Regions from separate parts of the Homo sapiens genome. Here all the other regions are linked to region 1. The links are contacts of gene promoters, found by promoter capture Hi-C in blood cells and fetal thymus (Javierre and others, 2016). All regions are on one chromosome and are shown on one strand. The core of a region is centred on a gene start or on the middle of the fragment in contact, and the rest is flanking DNA. Distances in the headings are between cores, read along the strand shown. Region 1 holds the start of NR2E1 (nuclear receptor subfamily 2 group E member 1). Region 2 holds the start of FOXO3 (forkhead box O3). Region 3 overlaps AFG1L (AFG1 like ATPase). Region 4 overlaps AFG1L (AFG1 like ATPase). Region 5 has its middle 27 kb from the start of FOXO3.

What was found. Contacts are between HindIII fragments. The CHiCAGO score rates a contact against its expected background, and 5 or more counts as called.
Region 2: the fragment with the promoter of FOXO3 here is called in contact with the fragment with the promoter of NR2E1 in region 1 in 3 of 17 cell types (naive B cells, total B cells and megakaryocytes); the score reaches 11.0 in naive B cells.
Region 3: a contact is called between a fragment that was not itself captured here and the fragment with the promoter of NR2E1 in region 1, in 3 of 17 cell types (megakaryocytes, endothelial precursors and M1 macrophages). The highest score is 8.8, in megakaryocytes.
Region 4: a fragment that was not itself captured here is called in contact with the fragment with the promoter of NR2E1 in region 1 in 2 of 17 cell types (megakaryocytes and endothelial precursors); the score reaches 9.0 in megakaryocytes.
Region 5: a contact is called between a fragment that was not itself captured here and the fragment with the promoter of NR2E1 in region 1, in 1 of 17 cell types (megakaryocytes). The highest score is 8.5, in megakaryocytes.

What each region holds. Positions count from the first base shown.
Region 1 is chr6:108,164,745-108,167,444 of GRCh38, reverse strand. It overlaps NR2E1 (nuclear receptor subfamily 2 group E member 1), which reads right to left and starts at 1,423. Exons shown (of 9, transcript NM_003269.5): 1 at 655-1,423. The coding sequence starts at 679. RefSeq lists enhancers at 1-578, 1,479-2,380. The HindIII fragment of the contact is 9,879 bases long and covers 1-2,700 here.
Region 2 is chr6:108,559,637-108,562,336 of GRCh38, reverse strand. FOXO3 (forkhead box O3) reads right to left here and starts at 1,420. Exons shown (of 3, transcript NM_001455.4): 1 at 508-1,420. The coding sequence starts at 1,128. RefSeq lists an enhancer at 443-943 and silencers at 1,387-1,606, 2,586-2,655, 2,696-2,700. The HindIII fragment of the contact is 5,662 bases long and covers 299-2,700 here.
Region 3 is chr6:108,474,813-108,477,512 of GRCh38, reverse strand. It overlaps AFG1L (AFG1 like ATPase), which reads right to left. Exons shown (of 13, transcript NM_145315.5): 9 at 578-648; 10 at 221-321. The region is part of intron 2 of LOC124901370 (a long non-coding RNA gene); the gene reads left to right. Among named protein-coding and RNA genes, the nearest start is that of FOXO3, 85 kb to the left of the region's middle. The HindIII fragment of the contact is 711 bases long and covers 946-1,656 here.
Region 4 is chr6:108,516,619-108,519,318 of GRCh38, reverse strand. All of the region lies in intron 11 of AFG1L (AFG1 like ATPase), which reads right to left. Among named protein-coding and RNA genes, the nearest start is that of FOXO3, 43 kb to the left of the region's middle. The HindIII fragment of the contact is 3,442 bases long and covers 1-2,700 here.
Region 5 is chr6:108,532,674-108,535,373 of GRCh38, reverse strand. No RefSeq gene overlaps it. Among named protein-coding and RNA genes, the nearest start is that of FOXO3, 27 kb to the left of the region's middle. The HindIII fragment of the contact is 8,447 bases long and covers 1-2,700 here.

The sequences.
Region 1 (2,700 bases), core at 174-2,673:
GAAGCGCACGGAGGGAGCAGGCCGCGCACTCCTGCCTCTGCTGGGCTCCGGCTCGAAAAGTCCTTGGGATTAGGGATTTGGTCCTCTCTTTGCTAGAGTGGTTCGCCATACTTTAAATTCCCCAGTTATGACCTACGCGGATTTAGGATTAAGGAAAATGTGACTTTTAAATTGTTTCTGCTTCCCAGTTTGCAGGATTATTTGAAATAGCTAGAAACGGGGTGCAAAGCATTCCATTCAAAATCCGCTTTGCACAGAGTTGCTTTTGCGCGCTGGAGCTCGGAGTTTTGAGCGAGTGTGTTATTGTGCTACCGCCTGGAGCTGCGGCCCAGTTCCCGCCCCCATGGCCCCCCCATCCAGCACCTGGCGGCTAAATGGAGACAACTCATCCGACTGGTGGGCTGCGCGGGTCGTAACCTTCTCACCGCACCAGACAGGGGGGATCAAGCAATCCAGAGGCAACGAAACGGCTCTCCCCTCTCCACGAAATGCTCCAACTCACGGTCTACAGGTCTGGGCCGAACGCACACGCCCGCTGGAATCCCTCTCAGGGGCTCAGATTCGCAGCGCTCCAGGCAGGACCTCCCCCAGCCTCCCCGCTCGCTCGCCCCAGGCTGCGCGCCTAGGCCCCACGGCGGCCCGAGAGGTACCCACTTGTTGATCCGGCTGGCTTGCTCATGCTGGCTGTCCCGGGGCGGAGCGGTTGGTGGGCGCTGCCCGAGTCCCGGCCGGCAGCGCCCGCCTCGCCGCCGGGCGCCGCCGCTCTCCAGCTGCCCTCCAGCCTGCAAGGCTCCTGGGCGGGACAGGTGGGTGTCAGTCGCGCGCTGCGCTGCTCCCTGGGCGCTCAGAATTCGTCCAACAGTGGAAATTTAAGCATCCTTAAGTTTCTTCCCGGCTCTTGCAAAACCGCAGCTGCTGGGAATGCTGCTTGATATGGACACACACATGGACAGACAGATGGAGAGATGGACAGGAAGACTGAGGAAGAAGGAAGAACAGCAAGAGAGGGATGTTGAAAGACAGAGATGGAGACACGAAAATGGCCTTCCTACGGAGCGAAATCCCTCTTTTTCCCCATTCCTGTCACTCAGTCTTCGATCTCTCCCTCTACATAGGCATGCAGAGTGTGGGCAATCTCTGCCGACCGCTGGTCTCCCAAGGAAAGAAGGAAAACACTACCGCAGTCTCAGAGGCAGACGGGCTCCGCGCTGCCGGAACCCAAGCGCAGAGTGGGAAAACTAGATTGCTGGGAAATCTTCCGAGGGAAGAGGCGGCCAGGTCCGGGTTTCCGGGGAGAGCCGCGCACGCAGCGGCGAAGGGTCCCCGAAGTTCATTACCCCGTGACTTTGTGCCTGTCGCTGCGGGCTGGGTCCCCTGTAATATCTCCAGAAGCGCTCTGACAGGCAGCCGCGGGGAGGGGAATAGGGCGTCCCTGGCCCACTTAGCTTTTCCCCCAACTCCTGGCGGGGTCTGACGTCAGCCATGTGCGGGGAGGGGATGGGAAGAGGGAGGGGGTTAAATGCTAATGATATTAATGAACCTCCAAGCGGCTCCCAAAGAAAATGCAGGCGCTGTCGGAGCTTACGAGTTAGAAAGTGTGAATATGGGAGTGTGGCTCTGTGCGTGCGTGATGGTGAGGACGGTGCGGCTCGTAATAAAAATGAATTCGTATATTTCACGGCAAGAAGGAAGGGGAGGGGTGACGGGGCTTTCTCAAAACGCTTTTCCCCCTCTCTCCAGAGTGCCAGATAGATTCGCGGAAGAAATTGGGTGGCTGTGTGCTGGCGTGTGATTGTGCGCGCCGGACATGGCCATGTGAGTTGGTTCATTCTTGGTCCGGTGCCCCTTCTGTTGGGTAAAACTTGGATCTGGCCCGAGGTGAGTAATTTACTCATTTTGCACATATCTACGGAAAGTCAGGGCTGAGGATGGGGTCTTCTGGAGGTTCCGCGTTCCTTCGGCCTTCGCGCAGTGGGTTTGGGCACCAGCCGAGGGGAGGATGCCGCCAGCTTCCCCAAGCAGAGCTGGCCCATCCGACGCTGAGCGAATCTCTTGTCGCCTCCATTATCTGCACCGGGGCGGCTGGAGGGCAGAGCGTTCCCTCCCGCCGCTCGTCCTCGGCGGGCGTTGCGGGCTCCCGCTCTCCGGGCGGAGGAATAGTGAAGAGAGGCCCTCATCCCCTACCCCCTCCCCATTCCGCTTGCCTTCCCGCGATTCCTGAGCTCTCTCGCGCCTTGCTCTGTGCGCGGCGCTGGGAGAGCGCATGCCGAGGGAGCGATGATCCCCGATCTCTAAGAGATTAATTCTATTTAAGCTCTCTCGGCAGCTTGAACTTGTCGAACAAGAGCTTGCCAGTCCCTCCTCAGGGCGTGGACCCGGCCAGAGGTCAGAGGTTACACCTCCCGCCCTCCGCTCGACGTTCGCGGGGAGGGGAGCTGTGGCCGGCGCTCTGCAATTCCGCCAGCCCACCCCCCGGTCCCTCTTTCTCCAGACTCGGTGTCATCCCGGGCTTTCAATCAGAGTTCGCCTGTGCGTGCAAGTGAATGCTGGAGTCCCCCGAGCCCTGGGAGGGCGCAGCAGGTCCTCCGCCTGGGCGTCCCAGGGGGAGCGGGCTGTGCGCTCCAGTGGGCTCCGACAGCACGTGATTGCAACTTTCTGCCCAGCCTTGGCTCGGCCTCGAGCTCGGGGTCTCGCACACCA
Region 2 (2,700 bases), core at 171-2,670, 390 kb before region 1:
AAACTTGGACCCGAAGGTTCTCATTCAGCTAGTGACGACGCAACATGCTCCTGCGACAGACTGGAAACCACACATCCAACCCCTCCTCCAGACACTGCGTCCCAAACACCCCCACACCTCTCACTCCAGCCACAGCGCCCGCACCAGACCCCCACTACGGTAAACTCTACTCCAAAGTTGGCTGCGGACCTACCTCCTCGGTGCTGTCCGGAGAATCCAGCAAATGTACTCCTGTCCGTTCGCCCTTCCCTCGCCGGCGTCCCCTGCCCCCTCTCCTCACCTGGCCATGCCCCAAGCTTCTGGGGAGCCTCATTCACCCCTCCGAGACCGTCCCCAGGTGCCCCGACTCCGGGGATCAAAGATAACCCCCAAAGCCTCGCAGCGGAGGCTCCCCCTGCCAACCCCTTGCCCTGGAGCCCGCAAGCGCACTCCGACGAATCCGAGACGCGTCTCGCGCTGCGCAGGAGGCCCGGCGGGTCCTGCTGCCAGCCCGGGGTGGGTACGCACCTTCCAGCCGGCAGAGCTGTTGCTGTCGCCCTTATCCTTGAAGTAGGGCACGCAACGCACCATCCACTCGTAGATCTGGGACAGAGTGAGCCGTTTGTCCGGGGAGCTCTCGATGGCGCGGGTGATCAGGTCCGCGTAGGACAGGTTTCCCCAGGCGTTCCGCCGCGACGAACATTTCCTCGGCTGCCCGGAGCCCCCAGCCGCCCCCGGCTGCGGCGGTGGCAGCGGTTGCTGAGGCTGCAGCAGCGCCTGTGTACCCCCGCTCAGCCCGCCCGCCGCGGTGGCTGGCCCAGACCCGGGGTCTTGCCCTCCGGGTGCCAGCACCCGGGCCGAGTCCTCAAGGAGCAGCCCGGAGCCCAGCGTGCCGCTCCCGCCGCCGCCGCCGATCGCCATGGCCGAGCCGGCCCGTCCCCCGCCGTCCTCGTCGTCTTCATCGTCCTCCTCCTCGGGGATCATGGAGTCGGCGGCCGTCTCCCCCGAGGGCTTGGCAGGGCTCGCTTGGAGCTCCGGCCTTTGCAGGGGCCACGTACAGGATCGCGGACGGCTCTGGGGCTCGAACTCCGGGTCCAGCTCCACTTCGAGCGGAGAGAGCGGGGCCGGGGAAGCCGGTGCCTCTGCCATCTTCGCCGCCCGCCCGCCCGCGGCTGGGGCTCTCGCGCTCTCCTCTCGCGCCGGGGCGGGGTGCAGCGGGGGAGGGACGTGGACGCCGCGAAGGCTCCGGCTCCCGGGCGCCGCCGCCGCCGCCTGGGGAAGCACCAAAGAAGAGAGAAGGAGAGTTGGTTATCCCGGGCCGGAGCCCCGTCCTCGGCGAGTCCTCGCCCGCTGCCGCCACCTCCCAGTCCTGCCGCGCCCGCCTCCCAGGAACAGGAGGACCTGAAGACGTGCGGCCAGCGAACCTGGCGCAGCAGACACCGCCCCCCGGCCAGGCCGCGATGGAGCCGCGAGCGAATCGACGGCCTCGCGCGGGGCAGCCCCCTCCCCCCGCCGCCCAGCCGCAGGTCCCTCCCGGGCTAGGCGGCGGGGCGGGGAGAAGGGGGAGGGGCGCCCGGGGGAGGGGCGGCCGCGCCTTTAAAGCGGGCAGCGGCCGGAGCTGGCGCAGCCGAGCCGCGGTCAGAGCCCGAGCTCGGGTGTGCGTGCGTTTGTTTATGTTTCGCTCGGGCCCGCTCTAGTGCCTCCCGCGGCGCCGCCGCTCAAGTCTGTGCTGTCTTCGGCTCTTCTCCCCTTTCCTAGCCTGGCCGCCTCCGCGACCCCCCGTCACCCCCCACCCGGTCGAATGGCCCGAGCCCGGGGACTGCGCGGGCAGCTCCCTCTCCCCTCTTCGCCCGCGGGCCAGAGGGCGAACGGGGGTCTGGGCGCAGATGGGCCCTTGTCACTTCCAAAAAATAAAGGAAAGACAGAAAGAAGGGGGAGCAGCAGCCCAGCGGGTGTTCGCAGAGGTTCGAGCCCGGCGGGGACGGCCACTTCGGGGTTTTGTGTGGTTTGCATTCTCGCGGACGTCGTCCCCTCCGCCCCCTTCCCAGTCGGGATCCGGGGGAGGGAGCGAGTCGGAACATAAATCTTCCAACAGGTCGGGAAGCGCCAAGTCTCCCGGGCTGCTAGAAAACCCGGACCAGCACGTTCATCACCTCCTTGCTCCCGCTGCTGCCATCTTGACAGTTTCCCCCTTCCCGAGTCCTTTAAAAACACTAGCGGGCGAGAAGGGGGGCGCGCACACCGCGGCTCAGGGAGGGGAAAGGGAAGCGCCCGGCCCAGCTCGGAAGCAGATCCGGAGTCACCGGGAAGGCGGCCGCCCGCTGCACGGCTCCGGCGCCTACCTCGCTTCCTTCCCTTCAGGGACGCGGCGGGACGACGCACGATCCCGCGCGGGCCCGGGGCACGGCGAGGAGGGGGCGCGCAACCTCGGCGAAGGAGAAGCGCTCGGGCCGTCGCCGCAGCCCGCCCGAGGAACCGCCTGTCAGCTCGCGCGCCGCCACCTTCCACATTCCTCCTCCTCCCTTCCACGAGCAGGGCGGCCGCGGCAGCAGCACAAAGTTATAGACACACGCAGGGCGCCTCAACCTAGGCTGACGGCGGGCGGGTCCCCGCCCAGGGGGAGGGCTGGGCGGCGGGCTGGGCGGCGGGCCGGGCGCGCGGCGGGCGTGCGTGTGTGAGTGCGCGTGTGTGAGCTCGCGCGCGCCTGCGCGGCCCGGCTCC
Region 3 (2,700 bases), core at 52-2,551, 310 kb before region 1:
ATTTCTAATTTTGCATTAGAGCCCCTCTAAGTGCAAATTTTGTGCCAATATCTATAAAAAGCACATGGCAAAAATAGATGAGTATTTCCCTTAATGAGACTTTTAAATCGATTCTGACTCTGTGAATGGTATTTTAAAATCTGAAATGGGCAGAGAGGAAAACACGAAGTATTTTAACATGTGAAAAGGCCAGTGAGTCTGGACGTGCCTGGATACTTACTCTCTCACACAGCTCTTCAAATGTGCAGTCGGCAACGGTTCCACAGGCTTTATTCAGGCGCAGCTCTCTGCCTTGCACTTTTAGAATCCTTGGTCTAGTTACTATGGGAACATGAACAAAGACTCAATCTTGTCTGGATAATTACTATAAAATTCATCTCTTACAGATAGGAAATGCATAGCTTGATGAATAATAGCACATGATTCAACACATAAATTAGACAAAATGCTGATACAATGACTGCCACTTGAGCGTGGCATCAACCCATATACAGCAATGGAACTTATTAATTGGTCAGTGGAGATTGGGCATTGTGTTCTAAATGTATTCTCTTTCAAGAGAAATTAACTTACGTACAATCATTTTGTTTCTGAGCCAGCTCATCAAACAACTTATCCATGACAGCCTCCACATCAGCTTCACTTGTGCTACAGTGAAAAGAATAATAGAATATGAAATTAATAACACTTGAAGCCAACATCAAACAGCTGCCTGAGACTGCTTAGCTTTTTGCCCATAAAAAAAAAGAACAGGATGTTATGCTCTAAATACAAACATTAGATTTAGAATACACTTAAAAGCAGAGAATATTAACTCTCAGGTAGATGATTCTGCCTTATTTGCATACACTGAAAGACTTCTGTGCTTCTAGCTGTTTCCAGTAATGAGACGATACAGGCAGAGTAAATCCATTAATACCATGTGTACACAATGAGAAGAAAGCTTCTGGCTCTCTCTTGCATGCAAAACAAGAGCAAATAGACAAGGCAGTCAAGCATCCAGCAAAGTATCCTTTGAAATCTCTACTGAGAGGGTACATGTGAAATTAAATATTGAAGCTGCATTTTAAAAAAATCAAGTCAAGCCACTGACTGAGAGGATCAAACCTCCAGAATTAAATTACTACCTTCGAAATGCCAACTTGATCTGCACATCAATAACTTTGTCAGACTTCTAGTATAAGGACAATTATAGACCACACAGTTTCTCTCAAAAGTCTCCTTGTTGGAAATTGAAGAAAACTCTCTCCTTCTGTGATGCCCACTGTTACAGCTACTATGAAGTTAGTCTCATCACAGAATCTTTTGTATTCTAATTAGAAATCACCATATGGTTTAGGGAACTCATATATAAATGAGATGATGCTATGGCCTTTTTCCTCTCGCCTTTTTTTTTTAAGAGGGGTGGTAAATTAACAGTCAATAAAATAACTGGCAGAAGAAATAAACTGTTAAAAAGAGCTTCAAGTAAAAATGTAAGTTTACTTCAACTCCACATACAAACTTTTACAGGTTGACCTGCCAATATGCTTAATTTTGACACACAGATCACTCTTACGTAGTAGTGGAAGCAATTAAACTAAATTCTGGACATCCATCTTACTAAAGTCTTATTGAAAATTAGTGTGACAGGTTATCTTTTATTTAGATTAAGCTTAAACTAAACAAATTCTCCCTTGAGATAATTATCAGGTGGTAGGCATTTAATACACAAGCACCCAATTCTTCAACTGTTCTAGAGCAAATGTCTTTAAAATGCAACAAAGCATATAGTTATTATGAAAAGTTTGAAATTGTCACATTCCAAGTAATAACCACTCCACCTCAAAGGACATTAAAAACATCATTTGCAATGGTCAACTTTGCAGGAGAAATGCTATTTGACTTCCATGAGGTCTAGTGTCATATTCAAATAGAGTGGTATTAAAATAATGAAATGACACTATAGAAAGTAATTTTAGAGACAGAAACAATCTTAAAGGAAAAAGAAATCACACAAACCAATGTAAATGTCAATGGTCATGCCAAGCACATGTCTGTTTAGACATTATTCTTGAGAATTCATTTGGAACCAACACCACCTTTGGTGTATACAAGCAAAAAAAGAAAAAAAAGAGCTTAAAAGTAAGCTACTTTTGAGCCCATATAGCCAAGACAATCTTAAGCAAAAAGAACAAAGCTGGAGGCATCACGCTAGCAAACTTCAAACTATACTGCAAGGCTACAGTAACCAAAACAGCCTGGTACTGGTACCAATACAGACACATAGACCAATGGAACAGAACAGAGATCTCAGAAATAAGACCACACATCTACAACCATCTGATCTTTAAGAAACCTGACAAAAACAAGCAATGGGGAAAGGATTTCCTGTTTAATAAATGGTGCTGGGAAAACTGGCTAGCCATATGCAGAAAACCAAAACTGGACCCCTTCCTTATGCCTTATATAAAAATTAACTCAAGATGGATTAAAGGCTTAAATGTAAAACCCAAAACCATAAAAACCCTAGAAGAAAATCTAGGCAATATCATTCAGGACATAGGCATGGGCAAAGATTTTATGATGAAATCACCAAAAGCAATTGCAATGAAGGCAAAAATTGACAAATGGGATCTAATTAAACTAAAGAGCTTCTGCACAGCAAAAGAAACTATCATCAGAGCGAAGAAACAACCTACAGAATAGGAGAAAGTTTTG
Region 4 (2,700 bases), core at 58-2,557, 350 kb before region 1:
TCCACAATGCAACAGGATTAAGAGGTGTGGCCTCTAGGATATGATTGAGTCATGAGGCTCTGCCTTCATGCATGGGATTCGGTGCCTTTATACAGGATTTGATGGAGGGAGTTCACCACTTTTTGCCTTCCATTCCTTCCACCATGCGAGAACAACATTTGTGCCCTCTGGTGGCAACAAAGCAGATAGTAGCCCTCACCAAACACCCAAACCTGCTGGCTCCTTGATCTCAGACCTCACAGAACTGGAAGAAATAAATTCCTATTATTTATAAATTACCCAGACCATGGTATTTTGTTATAGCACCACATACTGACTAAGATGATTACACTGTGATGTTGACATTTATACCTGGCTGTTTGGAGCTGGTCTGTGCACCTAAGACGCTCCCCAGGGACACTGTAAAGAGGTTAGTTACGCTTTTGCTGCACAGCAGACTGCTAAGTTCAGTGCATTGCTATTCTAATTAGGCCAGTGAGTGTCCAGAACCTACATTTATTATCTTAGCATCCTGCTAGGACATTCTTCAAAAAGACTAAGATTTACATTAATATCTCTTGATTACATAAGTATTTGAATGAGTGTTCATATGTGATCATATATTGGAAACAGCTTTTATATTTTTTATATCCACTAGTTTAAATACAAAACATATTCTTTTTTTTATTATTATACTTTAAGTTTTAGGGTACATGTGCACAACGTGCAGGTTTGTTACATATGTATACATGTGCCATGTTAGTGTGCTGCACCCATTAACTCATCATTTAACATTAGGTATATCTCCTAATGCTATCCCTCCCCCCTCCCCCCACCCCACAACAAGCCCCGGTGTGTGAAGTTCCCCTTCATGTGTCCATGTGTTCTCATTGTTCAATTTCCACCTATGAGTGAGAACATGCGGTGTTTGGTTTTTTGTCCTTGCCATAGTTTGCTGAGAATGATGGTTTCCAGCTTCATCCATGTCCCTACAAAGGACATGAACTCATTTTTTATGGCTGCATAGTATTCCATGGTGTACATGTGCCACATTTTCTTAATCCAGTCTATCATTGTTGGACATTTGGGTTGGTTCCAAGTCTTTGCTATTGTGAATAGTGCCACAATAAACATACGTGTGCATGTGTCTTTATAGCAGCATGATTTATCATCCTTTGGGTGTATACCCAGTAATGGGATGCCTGGGTCAAATGGTATTTCTAGTTCTAGATCCCTGAGGAATTGCCACACTGACTTCCACAATGGTTGAACTAGTTTACAGTCCCACCAACAGTGTAAAGTGTTCCTATTTCTCCACATCCTCTCTAGCACCTGTTGTTTCCTGACTTTTTAATGACTGCCATTCTAACTGGTGTGAGATGGTATCTCATTGTGGTTTTGATTTGCATTTCTCTGATGGCCAGTGATGATGAGCATTTTTCCATGTGTCTTTTGGCTGAATAAATGTCTTCTTTTGAGAAGTGTCTGTTCATATCCTTCACCCACTTTTTGATGGGTTTGTTGTTTTTTTTCTTGTAAATTTGTTTGAGTTCATTGTAGATTCTGGATATTAGCCCTTTGTCAGATGAGTAGATTGCAAAATTTTTCTCCCATTCTGTAGGCTGCCTGTTCACTCTGATGGTAGTTTCTTTTGCTGGGCAGAAGCTCTTCAGTTTAATTAGATCCCATTTGTCAATTTTGGCTTTTGTTGCCATTGCTTTTGGTGTTTTAGACATGAAGTCCTTGCCCATGCCTATGTCCTGAATGGTATTGCCTAGGTTTTCTTCTAAGGTTTTTATGGTTTTAGGTCTGACATTTAAGTCTTTAATCCATCTTGAATTAATTTTTGCATAAGGTGTAAGGAAAGGATACAGTTTCAGCTTTCTACATATGGCTAGCCAGTTTTCCCAGCACCATTTATTAAATAGGGAATCCTTTCCCCATTTCTTGTTTTTGTCAGGTTTGTCAAAGATCACATAGTTGTAGATATGTGGCATTACTTCTGAGGGCTCTGTTCTGTTCCATTGGTCTATATCTCTGTTTTGGTACCAGTAACATGCTGTTTTGGTTACTGCAGCCTTGTAGTATAGTTTGAAGTCAGGTAGTGTGATGCCTCCAGCTTTGTTCTTTTGGCTTAGGATTGTCTTGGCAATGCGGGCTCTTTTTTGGTTCCATATGAACTTTAAAGTAGTTTTTGCCAATTCTGTGAAGAAAATCATTGGTAGCTTGATGGGGATGGCATTGAATTTATAAATTACCTTGGGCAGTATGGCCATTTTCACGATATTGATTCTTCCTACCCATGAGCATGGAATGTTCTTCCATTTGTTTGTATCCTCTTTTATTTCATTGAGCAGTGGTTTGTAGCTCTCCTTGAAGAGGTCCTTCACATCCCTTGTAAGTTGGATTCCTAGGTATTTTTTTCTCTTTGAAGCAATTGTGAATGGGAGTTCACTCATGATTTGGCTCTCTGTTTCTCTGTTATTGGTGTATAAGAATGCTTGTCATTTTTGCACATTGATTTTGTATCCTGAGACTTTGCTGAAGTTGCTTATCGGCTTAAGGAGATTTTGGGCTGAGACGATGGGGTTTTCTAGATATACAATCATGTCATCTGCAAACAGGGACAATTTGACTTCCTCTTTTCCGAATTGAATACCCTTTATTTCTGTCTCCTGCCCGATTGCCCTGGCCAGAACTTCCAACACTATGTTGAATAGG
Region 5 (2,700 bases), core at 96-2,595, 370 kb before region 1:
CTCGGCCCTTTGCAGTCTGTCTCACAGGAGAAGGTTTGCACTGGGAGGAAGACCTAAAGTCCACCCTCCATTCTGCTTCATGTAGGCAGAGGGAGCAGAGGGCACACGTGCAAACATGAAGGGCCGTGAGTGCTGCGCAGAGAAGCCGGAAGGTGAAGGCCAAGCTACCCCAGGCCAGGGTCCAAGAATAGGAGTGGAGGAGTGACATCTGGCCATCATCTGTGCCTCTGAGCCCCTAGCAGGTTCCTCAGGGCTGCCTCTACTCATCTTCCAGATGGAACTGAAATGCCAGCCTGAAGAATGGGAGCCTGTGACCCAGCATCTCTCTCAGAATAGGAAGGGGGTTTGAGGACAATCGTAGATAACAATTGCTGGCTAATGAATGTCTGCGCAGTGCTGGGCACTGTGAGTAATGATCTCTGATGCCCACAGCACCCTGCAAGGTTGGTATTCTTTCCCCCATTTTACGAATGGGGAGATGAAGGTTGAGCAACTTTGGCTAACACACCAGGTCACACAGCAGGTATTTAACCCGGGTCTGAATCCAAATGAAGCTGGGTGAGTGAGGAAGCCGAGCTCCATACTAACTGGGGTTTGCCTATCATGGAGCTGAGAACCTAGCCGGCCTCTCTTGATCCCAGTCCAGACCCTTCTGCCACATGTGGAGCTTGGAAAGAATGAATGAACACAGAAAGCAGGTTCAGCACTGCAGAGGATGTAAATAGGGGCAGATGCAGGCTGTCAAGTAAAGAACAGGCTGAGGACACCCTCCCTGGCCCCTGCCCCCTGGGGCATAAATTCTAGCCTTCAGGCACAGTTGAAGGGGACTGAAACTCAGTGGCACAAACTGGGGACAAACCAGAGCCTTGGAGGAGAAAGCCTTCCCCAAACCAAGTGTCAAGGTGGGTCTAGAGAGCACACACAGGCTGCAGATTCAGTTCAGTCTGAATAAGGACGGTGCCCTGGGTCACAGCAAGAAGAGGGACCTGCCTTTAGCTGTCATCAGGTTGCCGTGGGGCCCTCTAACTTATGCTATGACAAGAGCTCTGAGTGCCAATATTCTGCCTGCTCCTTCTCCATCTCCATGAAGGAGTCCCCTCCCAACCACCACAGCAAATCCTCTCTTCCTTCCTCTTTCTTTCTCTCTCTCTCTTTTTTCTTTCTTCATCTTTTTTCTTTTCTTTCCTTTTCTTTTCTTTCTTCTTTCTTTCCTTCCATCCTTTCTTTTCCTTCCTTCCTCCCTCTTTCTTTTCCTTCCTTCCTTTCCTTTTTCTTTCTTTTTCTCTTTCTCCCTTCCCCTTCCCCTTCCTTCCTCTCTCTCTCTCTCTCTCTCCCTTTTTCTTTCTCCCTTCCCCTTCCCCTTCCTTCCTCTCTCTCTCTCTCTCTCTCTCTCTCTCTCTCTCTCTCTCCCTTTCTTTCATTGATAAAGAGTCTCGCTCTGTCACCCAGGCTGGAGTGCAGTGGTGCCATCTCAGCTCACTGCAACTTCCACCTCCCAGGCTCAAGCAATTCTCCTGCCTCAGCCTCCAGAGTAGCTGGGATTACAGGCGTGCACCAGCACACCCGGCTAATTTTTGTATTTTTTGTAGAGACAGGGTTTGACCGTGAAGCCCAGGCTGGACTCTTGAGCTCAGGTGATCCACCCGCCTTGGCCTCCCCAAGTGCTGGGATTACAGGCATGAGCCACTGCACCTGGCCCCTTCTCTTCCTTATTCCCCACATGTAACTATGGGCTACAAAGTGGTGATGGTAAGGTGGGAGTTTAGCTCATCCATACATCAGCTGTCTATTTTGCCCCAGACTTAAAGTTGCTTTGTCATGGCTTGAGCATTATTTTTGTGCTGTTAAATCTAATTATGTCAGTACCACAAAAGCATAAGCAATTATTTTTAATTCTACAAACTATGTTGCTCTAATCAATAGAAATCAACTGATACTTCTTTAGCAATTGAATTTAATATTCTGCCTTTTCAAAGTTTGGTTAAAATGTGATAGGTTATTAGTGCAAAATGAGGGACACATTTTGATGATAGCAGCAGTTTTTACACTGTGCACCCTGAATTTGGGGTTCTAAAGGGGAATTGTTATGTCTTGAAGGACCAAATTATGTCTAATTTCTCTCTGAACATTCAGAAGAATAACATTCATTATAGCTCCCTCTTCTGAATTGCCAGAGCACTTTGTAATTTCTCGTTGTATGGATGACACTCGGCCCTGCACTGGTGCTCTCTCAACTCTTTTCATCTCCTGGAGACTAGGGATGGGTTTTGTTATTCTGCATCTCTCCTCCCCAGCACAGTGTTTGTCCCTCAGTCCTTTCTATGCCTTTTACTACATTTCCTGGCTGACTTGAGTGCCCTGGTCTTCCCAGGATACCTGGGCAAGGCTCTTCCTTGACACCACATTATGTCTGTCTGTTGTCCCTAAAAGATTACAAGTCTGTCATGGTGAGGGAGTTTGTCTCATTATTCTCAGTGTGCCCGGCTCCTGGCACAGAGTAGACAGCAAGTAAATGATGAATGAATGAATGAATGAATGGTGAATATCTGTACACCTTTTTTTTTTTTTTTTTTTTTGGCCAGAGTCTCACTCTATCACCCAGACTGCAGTGCAGTGACATGATCTCGGCTCACTGCAGCCTCCACCTCCTGGGTTCAAGCAATTCTAGTGCCTCAGCCTCCCAAGTAGCTGAGATCACAG